Linked DNA regions of Homo sapiens: all the other regions are linked to region 3. Evidence: promoter capture Hi-C in human tissues and cell types (Jung and others, 2019). All regions are on one chromosome and are shown on one strand. The core of a region is centred on a gene start or on the middle of the fragment in contact, and the rest is flanking DNA. Distances in the headings are between cores, read along the strand shown.

What was found. Contacts are between HindIII fragments. The study calls those that stand out against the background at their distance.
Region 1: a fragment that was not itself captured here is called in contact with the fragment with the promoter of GIPC1 in region 3 in 3 of the 25 tissues and cell types used here (liver, lymphoblastoid cells and spleen).
Region 2: a fragment that was not itself captured here is called in contact with the fragment with the promoter of GIPC1 in region 3 in 2 of the 25 tissues and cell types used here (dorsolateral prefrontal cortex and lymphoblastoid cells).

Annotation. Positions count from the first base shown.
Region 1 is chr19:14,336,245-14,339,893 of GRCh38, reverse strand. The region is part of intron 1 of LINC01841 (long intergenic non-protein coding RNA 1841); the gene reads left to right. All of the region lies in intron 1 of LINC01842 (long intergenic non-protein coding RNA 1842), which reads right to left. Among named protein-coding and RNA genes, the nearest start is that of LINC01842, 4.3 kb to the right of the region's middle. RefSeq lists enhancers at 413-913, 914-1,414 and a silencer at 2,111-2,311. The HindIII fragment of the contact is 5,959 bases long and covers 1-3,649 here.
Region 2 is chr19:14,693,946-14,697,481 of GRCh38, reverse strand. ZNF333 (zinc finger protein 333) reads right to left here. Exons shown (of 12, transcript NM_032433.4): 3 at 2,349-2,472; 4 at 1,821-1,916. Among named protein-coding and RNA genes, the nearest start is that of ZNF333, 5.7 kb to the right of the region's middle. The HindIII fragment of the contact is 5,396 bases long and covers 1-3,536 here.
Region 3 is chr19:14,494,361-14,497,626 of GRCh38, reverse strand. It overlaps GIPC1 (GIPC PDZ domain containing family member 1), which reads left to right and starts at 1,500. Exons shown (of 9, transcript NM_005716.4): 1 at 1,500-1,590. RefSeq lists silencers at 1,167-1,226, 1,367-1,596 and an enhancer at 1,259-2,185. The HindIII fragment of the contact is 12,252 bases long and covers 1-3,266 here.

The DNA of each region.
Region 1 (3,649 bases), core at 975-3,474, 160 kb after region 3:
CATCAGCCATTGCTCAAGGTCTGCTCCAGGAGAGTGTTTGTTCTCCATACTTTCCACCCACTCAGCAGCCAGAGCCACTTCTCGGGAGCTGGTTCTTAGAAGCTGTGGGGTCAGCGTGCCCAGGAGTGCGTGGGGGACATGAGTGGGTGTTGACATTCTGGGGAGGGGGAGACAGAGGATAAAAAGAACAAATAAAGCATAGAGCATGTTCAAAAGGGGCCGGGCGCAGTGGCTCACACCTGTAATCCCAGCAATTTGGGAGGCCAAGACAGGCGGATCACTTGGGATCAGGAGTTTGAGACCAGCCTGGCCAACCTGGTGAAACTCCCTCTCTACTAAAAAAAAATACAAAAATTAGCCAGGTGGTGGTGTGCACCTGTAATCCCAGCTACTCAGGAGGCTGAGGTGGGAGAATCGATTGAATCCGGGAGGCGGAGGTTGCAGTGAGCCGAGATCACGCACCTGCACCCCAGCCTGGGCGACAGAGTAAGACCCTGTCTCAACAAAACAAAACAAAACAAAACAAAACAAAAACAAAAAGGGGTAAGTGTTGGGGACAAAAAGAAAATTAGACCAGCCCAAGATAAGGCGAAGAGGCTGTGGGGGAAGGTTCCTAGCATCCAACTTGGCACCCAGTAGGCGACAATAAATGTTCTGTTGCTTCTCTCTGGTCCATGGGGTGAAGGAGAGAGAGAGAGAGAATGCCCTGGTGTAGTGGGAGCCTGGGCAGGGGAGGAGGAAAGTGGGGAGGGAGCCAGTGTTAATGATGCTGAAAAGTAATCGGCCCTTCTCTCTGGGAGGCGGTGAAACTCTAATTAGAATGAAAATGTAGTTTAATGAGGATGAAAACGGTAATTGTGCCAGGCAGCGCAGTTCAGAAGTGTCGCTTTCCCTTGGGGCACCTTGCTGGCCTCTGAGGCTCTGGGCATGGGTGAGAAGGACTCAGGGCTGGGAAGGCAGGGGATTGTCAGTGCCTCAGTTTCCCCCCAAAGTGTCCTCCCGCTGGCATGGGGTAAAGAGCCTGTGTAGAGCCCCACGTGCCCCTGGGGCTGGTTCCAGGTGCCCAGAGCAACGTTTTTCCATCCCACACTTTATTCCTATTAATAATACAACCATCCGTGGAACCATATCAGTGATGCCATTTATTGAGTGCCTACTATGTGCCAGGTACCATTCTAACCCCTTCACAGATGCTAACTCAGGTAATCCTTAAAATTATCCTCATTTTACAGATGGGAACACTGAGGCACAGATAAACCATTGACCCTGGTAGGGATATTTTAAAGAGCGGGTGAGGGCCGGGCGTGGTGGCTCACACCTGTAATCCCAGCACTTTGGGAGGCTGAGGCGGGCGGACCACTTGAGGTCAGGAGTTCAAGACTAGCCTGAAAAACATGGCAAAACCCCATCTCTACTAAAAATACAAAAATTAGCCGGAGGTAGTGGTGCGTGTTTGTAGTCCCAGCTACTTGGGAGGCTGAGGCAGGAGAATAGCTTGAACTCAGGAGGCGGAGGTTGCAGTGAGCCGAGATGGTGCCACTGTACTCCAGCCTGGATGACAGAGAAGGACTCCGTCTCAAAAAAAAAAAAAAAAAAAAGAGTGGGTGAGGAGAAAGGTGGAATACAGTAGCCAGGTGCCTCCTTCTTTCTTTTTTTTATTTTCTTTTTCTTTTTTCTTTTCTTTTCTTTTCTTTTTTTTTTTTTTTTTTTGAGACAGTCTTGCTTTGTTGCCCAGGCTGGAGTGAAGTGGTGTGATCTCGGCTCACTGCAACCTTCGCCTGCTGAGTTCAAGCGATTCTCGTGCCTCAGCCTCTTGAGTAGCTGGGATTACAGGCATACACGACCACACCGGCTGATTTTTGTATTTTTAGTAGAGATGGGGTTTTGCCATGTTGATCAGGCTGGTCTTGAACTCCTGGCCTCAAGTTCAAGATTTGCCTGCCTCGGCCTCCCAAAGTGCTGGGATTACAGGAGTGAGTCATTGCGCCCAGCTATCCTTTCTTTAACCAGGTGGGTGCTAGGGGCATGAAGGAATTGCCAGCCATCGAGGCCAGGGGATCTTCTCCCTCCTCCTCCCCCTGGCCCAGGATCCTCACTATTTCGGTTCTTCACTTCTTTTTAATGCTCTAATCACGCCTCTCTCTTTAATGCTCTAATCACACCTCTCCACTCGAAGGTGGGCGTGGCTAGACGATTGGTGGGCGTAGCTAGATGAGAGGGCGTGGTTTATGTACAGTGGGCATGGTTTGATACACAGTGGGCGTGGCTAGAAGCGCATTCTGCGTGGCAGAATTTACCAACCCATCTTAACTTGGAGGAATCAGAAACTGGAGCCATAGCAGTAAACTACAGAACCCAGACACAAAGCCGTGGCTTCTGGCCCCAGGGCCTGAGCTTTCTTGCCATGGAAAGCTGAAGGGTTCTTCAAGTGTTCTGGGTAAGACTGAGGTTCATAAGATCTCAAAGTCTCTGCTTTTGTTTCTGGAGGAACCGCCAATAAAATGCAACCTGCAATGAGGCCTAGACAGAAGAGAAATGTTCATTGAGGCCAGTTGGGCAATAAAAGGAGATCTAGCTGGAGTCCCAGATCAGAGGAGATAGCCAGCCTGGGCAACATAGTGAGACCCCATCCCTACAAAAATAATTTTTAAAAATTTATCTGGGCATGGTGGCACACACCTGTGGTCCCAGCTACTCAGGAGGCTGAGGCAGGAGGATGGCTTGAGCCCAGGAGGTTGATGCTGCAGTGATTGCGGTGAGCTATTATGGTGCCACTGCATTCCAGCCTGGGCAACGGAGTGAGGCTCTATCTCAAGAAAAAAAAGGAAAAGAAAAGATCAAGGGAGATTAGATTGTTTGCCACGTATATGGCAGACAAATCATTAAGAGCCTTAATATACAAAAAGCACATATGAATCAATAAGAAAAAAAAGACAAACATCCCAAATGTGAAATTGGCACAGGGCTTGAATAGGGGGTTCACAAAGGAGTGAGAGCTTAACAAACCTCTGTAAAGATGCTCAATCTGACCGTTCAGCTGAAGAATCACTTTTCCTTGTCAAGCTTATGAGTGTGTGTGAAGTTTTGGGAATGCACACTTGAGCACGGTCATGGGAGTTTAAATTGACACAACTTTTTTTTTTTTAATTTTTTGAGACAGGGTCTCACTATGTCACCCATGCTGGAGTGCAGTGGCACAATCACGGCTCACTGCAGCCTCAACCTCCTAGGCTTAAGGAATCCTCCCACCTCAGCCTGCCAAATAGCTGACTACAGGTACAGGTCACCACACCCAGCTAATTTTTTAAAAACTTTTTGTAACATGGGGTCTCACGACTTGCCCAGGCTGGTCTCAAACTCCTGATCTCAAGTGATCCTCCCTCCTCGGCCACCCAAAGTGCTAGGATTACAGATGTCAGCCACCGCACCCGGCCACGATACAACTTTCTTGGGATGGTGTTCTAGATATTAGTATTAAACCTTTAAGCATGTGGATTCTCTGACCCAGCAAATCCACCTCTAGGAATTTATGTCAGGGATATAATCAGTCAAATAGGTGGAGAACTATAAAGAATAGGCTGGGCACGGTGGCTCACGCCTGTAATCCCAGCACTTTGGGAGGCTGAGGCGGGCAGATCACCTGAGGTCA
Region 2 (3,536 bases), core at 838-3,337, 200 kb before region 3:
ACTGAGGTGGGAGGATTGCTTGAGCCCAAAAGGCTGAGGCTGCAGTGACCTATGATTGCACCACTGCACTCCAGCCTGGGCGACAGAACAAGACCCTATCTCAAAAAAAAAAAAAAAAAAAAAAGAAAAGAAAAAAGAAATATTGTACACAAACATTCACAGCAACATTATTCACAATAGCTAAAAAGTAGAAACAATCCAACTGTCTATCAACTGATGAACAAATAATCAAAATATAGCTTATCCATACAATGTATATTATTCAGCCTTAAAAAAGGAATTAAGTTCTGATTCATGCTACAACATGGATGGATCTGGAAAACATAAAGCTAAGTGAAAGAAGACAGATACTGCTGTAGTTTAAGTGTGTCCTCCACAGTTCATGGGTTGGAAGCAATTCCCATACAACAGTATTGAGAGCTGGAACTTTAAAAGGTGATTAGGTGGCCGGGCACAATGGCTCACGCCTGTAATCCCAGCATTTTGTGAGGCTGAGGTGGGTGGACCACGAGATGAGGAGTTCTCGACCAGCCTGACCAACACAGTGAAACCCCATCTCTACTAAAAATACAAAAATTAGCCGGGTGTGGTGGTGTGCACCTGTAGTCCCAGCTACTCAGGAGACTCAGGCAGGAGAATCGCTTGAACCCAGGACGCAGAGGTTGCAGTGAGCCGAGATCGTACCACTGCACTCCAGCCTGGGTGACAGGGCGAGACTCTGTCCCAAAAAAAAAAAAAAAAAAAAAAAAAGGTGATTAGGTCACGAGGAATCTGCCCTGTGATTACTTCAGAAGGGGGTTAGTTATCTCAAGAGTGGCCTTGCTGTAAAAACCAGTCTGGGCCTCTCTTGTTCTCTTGCAACATGATCTCGTCCACCATGTTATGATGCTGCAAGAAGGCCCTTACCAGATGCAGCCCCTCAGCCTTAGACTTCCCAGCCTCCAGAACCAGGAGTCAAATAAACTTCTATTGTTTATAAACTACCCAGTCTAACTTACTTGCAACACAAAACTATTATACTAAGCCGGATACCAAAGGCTACTTATGATACGATTTCCATATACAAATGTCTATATAGGACAATCCATAGAGACAGAAAGCAGATTAGTGGCTGCCAGGGGCTGAGGGAGGGGTAATGGGGAGTAACTGCCCATGGGGACAGGGTTTCTACTTGGCGTGATGAAAATGTTCTGGAATTGGGTAGTGGTGATGTTTACACAAGGTTGTGAACCACTGAACTGCACACTTTAAAGGGGTGAATTTCATGGTGTGTGACTTATAGCTCTAATTTTTGCTTTGTTTTGTTTTTTGGAGACAGAGTCTCGCTCTATCCCCCAGGCTGGAGTGCAGTGATGCAATCTTGGCTCACTGCAACTTCTACCTCCCAGGTTCAAGCAATTCTCATGCCTCAGCCTCCCAAGTAGCTGGGATTACAGGTGTGCACCATCACATCCGGCTAATTTTTGGTAGAGATGGGGTTTTGCCATGTTGGCCAGGCTGGTCTCGAACTCCTGACCTCAGGTGATCCACCAGCCTCGGCCTCCCAAAGTGCTGGGATTACATGCAAGAGCCACCACACCTGGCCCTCTAATTTTTTAAGAGAAATTAGAACAAATCTTTTTCTGAAACCAAAGGAAAGTAGGAGAGGAGGGCTAGAAAGTGAAAATAGAAGAGAAGCTAAAGGAACTTGAGAAACCTCACTCCGAATGGCCTTCGATGTCCCCTCAGAACAAAGGGCCTTTGAAAATGCTCTTGACACTTCCCAAGGCACACCACCCAACCAGGGGGGTCGGGGGATCCACAGCCTGCCTGGTACTCACCAACACCTGTGGCACGGAGAATCCCTCGTTCTGTTGCCTTTGGCTCTGCTCTTTGCCCCAGCTGGGAGACACAACTGGGTTTGCATGGTGGAGTTCCTGCACATGAAGAAAGACACAGGCACTGAGAGAGAGAGGGCTTGCAGGGGAAAACAAACTCTTGTTTCTCAACTCAAACTCTCCTTCAGCTTCAATATGGGCTTCAGATTCTCTGGGCTGAGCAAGTGTGATGGGTAGCAAAGGGATCTTGCCCAATAGCTAATGAACTCAGGACCCAACCCACAAACACCCTCCCCTCTGCCCCAAGGGGCTGAGGCTGTCTCACCTCAGAAGCCTGGGGCCAAATTCAAGGAGACCCAAACAGGGCCTTACTACAGAGGGAAAGAAGTCAATGCAACAGATGAAGCTTTGTCATCCTGTGGACGCTAAGTGCCACAAAGCCTAAGCCACGTCTGTCTTCTTCACATGGCAGGCGCTTAAGAAGCATTTAGTGCCTGCGTACAGGAAGGAGCCAGGTGACGCCAGCCTTACCCCTGGAGGCCAGGGTCCTGCACTGGTCAAGCATCCTGTATTTGCACAGGCTCCTCCGTGCGCTGTCCAGCAATGCCCACTCCTGGATGAACTCCACGGCCACATCCTCAAAGGTGACGGATTCCTAAAACAGCACACACATTCTGGCTCGGCAAATACCACCCCCACCACTGAGCAGAACGACTGGTTATCACTGGAGAAGAGAAAATGTTCAGACACAGCAGGCATGGAAAATCCAGCCTAAAGCCTATTTTTGTAAATAATGTTTTCTTGGCACACAGCCACGTGCATTTATTTACAATGCATCAATGGCTGTTTTGAGGCCACAACGGCAGAACTGAATAGTTGTGACAGAGATCACATGGGCCACCAAGCTGAAATGTTTACTTTCTTTTAACATTTGGATAAATCCTAAAGTGTAAAGTTATGGCTCTCTGTGTAACTCCACTGACTTGTGATGGCAGAGCCTGTCCCTCCCTGCTTAGAGAGTTTTTCCTAAACTCCTTATTACAAATTGGCACAGCATCACAAATTTGGGATTGAAAGCTTAATTTCTGTGAAGTCCCTGGGATCCCCCAAGACTTACGTCCTTAATTATATACTTGTGAAAGTAGGACTTCCATTGCATCTGAGAGTCTTTTTCTTTTTTTCTTTTTTTTTTTTGAGACAGTCTTGCTCTGTCGTCCAGGCTGGAGTGCAGTGGCGCCATCTCGGCTCACTGCAACCTTCACCTCCTGGGTTCAAGCGATTTTCCTACCTCAGCCTCCCAAGTAGCTGGGATTACAGGCACGTGCCACACACCCAGCTAACTTTTTGTATTTTTAGTAGAGACAGAGTTTCACCATGTTGGCCAGGCTGGTCTTGAACTCCCAGCCTCAAGTGATCTGCCCGCCTCGGCCTCCCAAAGTGCTGGGATTACAGGCATGAGCCACCACGCCCGGCCTCATCTGAGAATCCTTTTAATTGCAGAATTCTTCAGAGCAGTGCTGTCCAACAGACATCACTCTCTGATGATGGGAATGTTCCATGCCTGTGCTTTCCAGAAAGGGGCTACCAGCACATGTGGCTGTTGAGCACTTGGGCAATGTGACTGGGGCGACTGAGAAACTGAGCGCTTAAACTTTTTAATTTTTTTTTTTTTTTTTTTTTTTTTAGAGACAAGGTTTTACTCTGTAGCTTAGGCTGGAG
Region 3 (3,266 bases), core at 251-2,750:
AGGAAGGGACGGACAATAGCTGTGCCTGTTGCCTGGCCTGCCACAGCAATCTCGGTGTTTGCCAGCTGGGTGGGGCTGGCTAGGCAATCCTCAGCAGCAAAGCTCAAGGTTCCATCTCCCATTTTAGTTTGCCCCTCTGCAGGTCCTGGTGGGACTGATATGCACAACATCTCACCCTGGGAACTGCAAAGAACCAGTCTTTCTATGGAGCTTGAGCAGGGTCTCAGCACTTAGAGGCTTCCAGGAACTACAGTTCCCAGAACACACAGCATTCAGCCCCAGTTGCTGTCCAAGTGGCTGGGTTTGAACTAGAACAAGGAAATCTCACTTGTCCCGGGAACTGAGCGTCCTGGCCTGGTCCAGGTGCATTTGTGACTCTTGTTTCTTGGATCTGTGTCCACCTGATAAATCCCCCTTCCTTATAAACTACATGGTCTATTTGTCCACACAGGTTTGCTGAGAACCTGCCGTGTGGCAGCCTGAGGTGGGAGTGAGGGGTTGACAAGAGAGACTCAGCCTCCACCCTCACAGTCAGATGGAGGAGACAGATCTATGAAAGGCTGGCTGGGTACCTTCTGTGACCTAGCACATAAACAAACCAACAAGCAGATAAACTATCTCACCCTTGTCTTTCATTGCATCTTGCCTTTCCACACTGATTTACTAGCTCCCACGATATTGCAGTATCCTAAAGCGTGCTGTATCTCTCTGTCCGGCTTTTGCACGCTCTGTTACCTCTACCAGGAGCACATTCAGCTTATTCACTGACGCGTCTTCAGAGGTAGGACAGAGTCTGGCACGGAGCAGTCTGGCACATTAAATATTTGATGAGTGAGTGAACGAATGAATGAATGAATGCCTTTGTCCATTGTACAGCCCAGGAAGCAGGGAAACTCGGGACCCTCCCTATTCATCTCGATCCCCCGCCCGCCCCCAGAGATTGAATGCATCTTTTTATCCGCTCCGAGGATGGCCAGGCTGGGGCAGAGGAGGCCGGGCAGGGAACTGGGTTGGGGACTGCCATTGACCCCCACCCAGGTCTCCTAAACTGTCCGCTTTCCTGGACGTCGGAAGTTCGAATCCTTTCCCCGAAACCTGGCCTAGGTCACCTGACTCCCCCGCCCCTCACCACCCAGGGCACCCGAGACTGACACTCAGCCGACAGCACGTGGTTCAGGGGCCCCAGCTTCCTTCCCATTGGCCGCTTGTCTCCTTCCTCCCTCGCGATTGGCCGGGGCCCAGCTGCAGCTCCCCCCCCTCCTCAGCCCTCCGGTGGTACAGCCAGCCGCGGCTTAGGCGGGGCGGAACGGTCCACTGCTTCGCGGCGAGGGGAGGAGTCGGGAAGAGCCGGGCGAGGCGGAGGGATCCCTCTGGAATGTTTCCGTCGGGTCCACCCGAAGCGGAAGACGCGGATTGGCTGCGAGCACCGAGAGGCAGCCGCTGATTGGCCGGCCGCGGGCGTCGGCCCCGCCCCCCAGGCGCCGCTGCGGGAGAGGCCCGGTCTGGAGTTTGCGGAGGGCCGAGCCGGGTGCGCACGGGGAGGCGGAGGCAGCGGCGGCGGCGGCGGCGGCGGCGGCGGCGGCGGAGCAGGTGAGTGGCCTCTGCGAGAAGGATGTGTCTGCTCCGGGGGCCTCGGGGGTCGCGGGCCTGCGAGGATCCGGCCGATCCTGCAGGGTGGGGCCGGCGCCGTGGACGCGACTGGAGGTCTAGGCTGCGCGCGGGGATGCCGGAGGCCCCTTCCCAGGGGAAGCGGGGGTGGGGGGTGGTGGGGGCAGCTCCCTTCCTGCTGGCGGGCAGGGGACAAACGCCTCCCAACGCTGGGCTGGGGTTTCTGGGCTTGCCCCTCCCCCCGTCCCCCGGCTGGACTGTCCCCATCCCAGCGTGGACAGGCGCGGGGTCAGTGTTTCTGACCCTTTCCTGGGCACTTCCCCTGAGCTAACCGCGTCTGAACCCTCCAGGGCCTTGGGGGGGACGCAGTGAGGACCACGGTCTGAATAATAATCGTCATGAAAAACTCCACCTCAGCTAGCATTTATTGGAGAGCTTCCGTGTCAGGCATTTACCATGAGGATAATTGACTCTAAACACCTCATGGGAGGTGCTGTGCCTTCTTGTAAAAAAGGTGAGGCAGCCTACCCAGAGAGGTGGAGTGACTTGCCCAAGGTCACACAGCTAGTAACTGGCACATCTGGGACTGGAACTCATGCCCCAGGGTCCAGAACTGGAGTCACACCCACTAGACTGGATACCAATAACTCCACGGCTCAGTTGTTGCTGAGTAGCTCCGGCCCCCTACCCCTCCCACCCCCTACCCCGTACTCATCATCAGGGCCACACCTGCTGGTCTTTTGCTTTACCAGCCACTCAAACAGGAAGCTGCCCTCCTTTCCCTTCTCCCCAGAGCTGGAGAGGGCAGGTCTAACTACCTGGGTCCAGAGAAGAGAGTGGCGTCTGCAGGGGGCCAGGATGCTGGGGTCTGGGCCCACTGGGTTCCCCCCTGGCAACCTGGGCCGAGGCTGGGAAGTAGGCGTTCTCCCCGGAAACACCCAGGAGCCGGTTTTTCAAGAGTGAATCAGAGGCCTCTTTCCCTCCTTCTCTCCAAAGCAACACTGTGCTGGAACGGGGAGCCTGGGCGTGGTTTCCCCCTTCCCCTAGCTTCTGTGTGCTCCCAGGAACCCCCTTCCCCTCCTCCTGCTGGCCACACTGCTTCTGTGTGGCCGTGGGGTTGCTAAGTTTCAGGCCCTTCCCAGGATGAGGGGGTGAGGATGCTGAAATTCCAGCCCAAACACTCAATATCCGGGCTGAAGTGGCTCTTCATCTCTGTGTTCAGGTGTGAGGGGAGCCAGGGAAAGTGGGGAGCCTAGGACAGTTGGCAACCGCACAGCAGGCATGTTTAGGGGGCTGTTTCAAGGATGGGGAGCACAGAGAGCAATCAGAACGAGGACCTGAGACACATTCATTCACTCAGTCTACAAATATTTAGTGAGCACCTGCTACGTGCATGTGCTAGGCACTGTTCTTGGCACAGAAAATGCAACAGTGAACAAAACAAAATCCCTACTTTTGAGGAGTTGGCACTCTGAAAGGAAGGAAGCAGCCAACAAACAAGTTAGCAAGTAAATAAAGAAGATAATTTCAGATGGCACTAACTGCTATGAATAAAATATGAGCGGGTGGTACTGTAGAGAGTAGTTGTGGGCAAGGGGTGCCAGCCCAGCAAAGATCAGGCAAGGGGGCCCGGGCGCGGTGGCTCACGCCTGTAATCC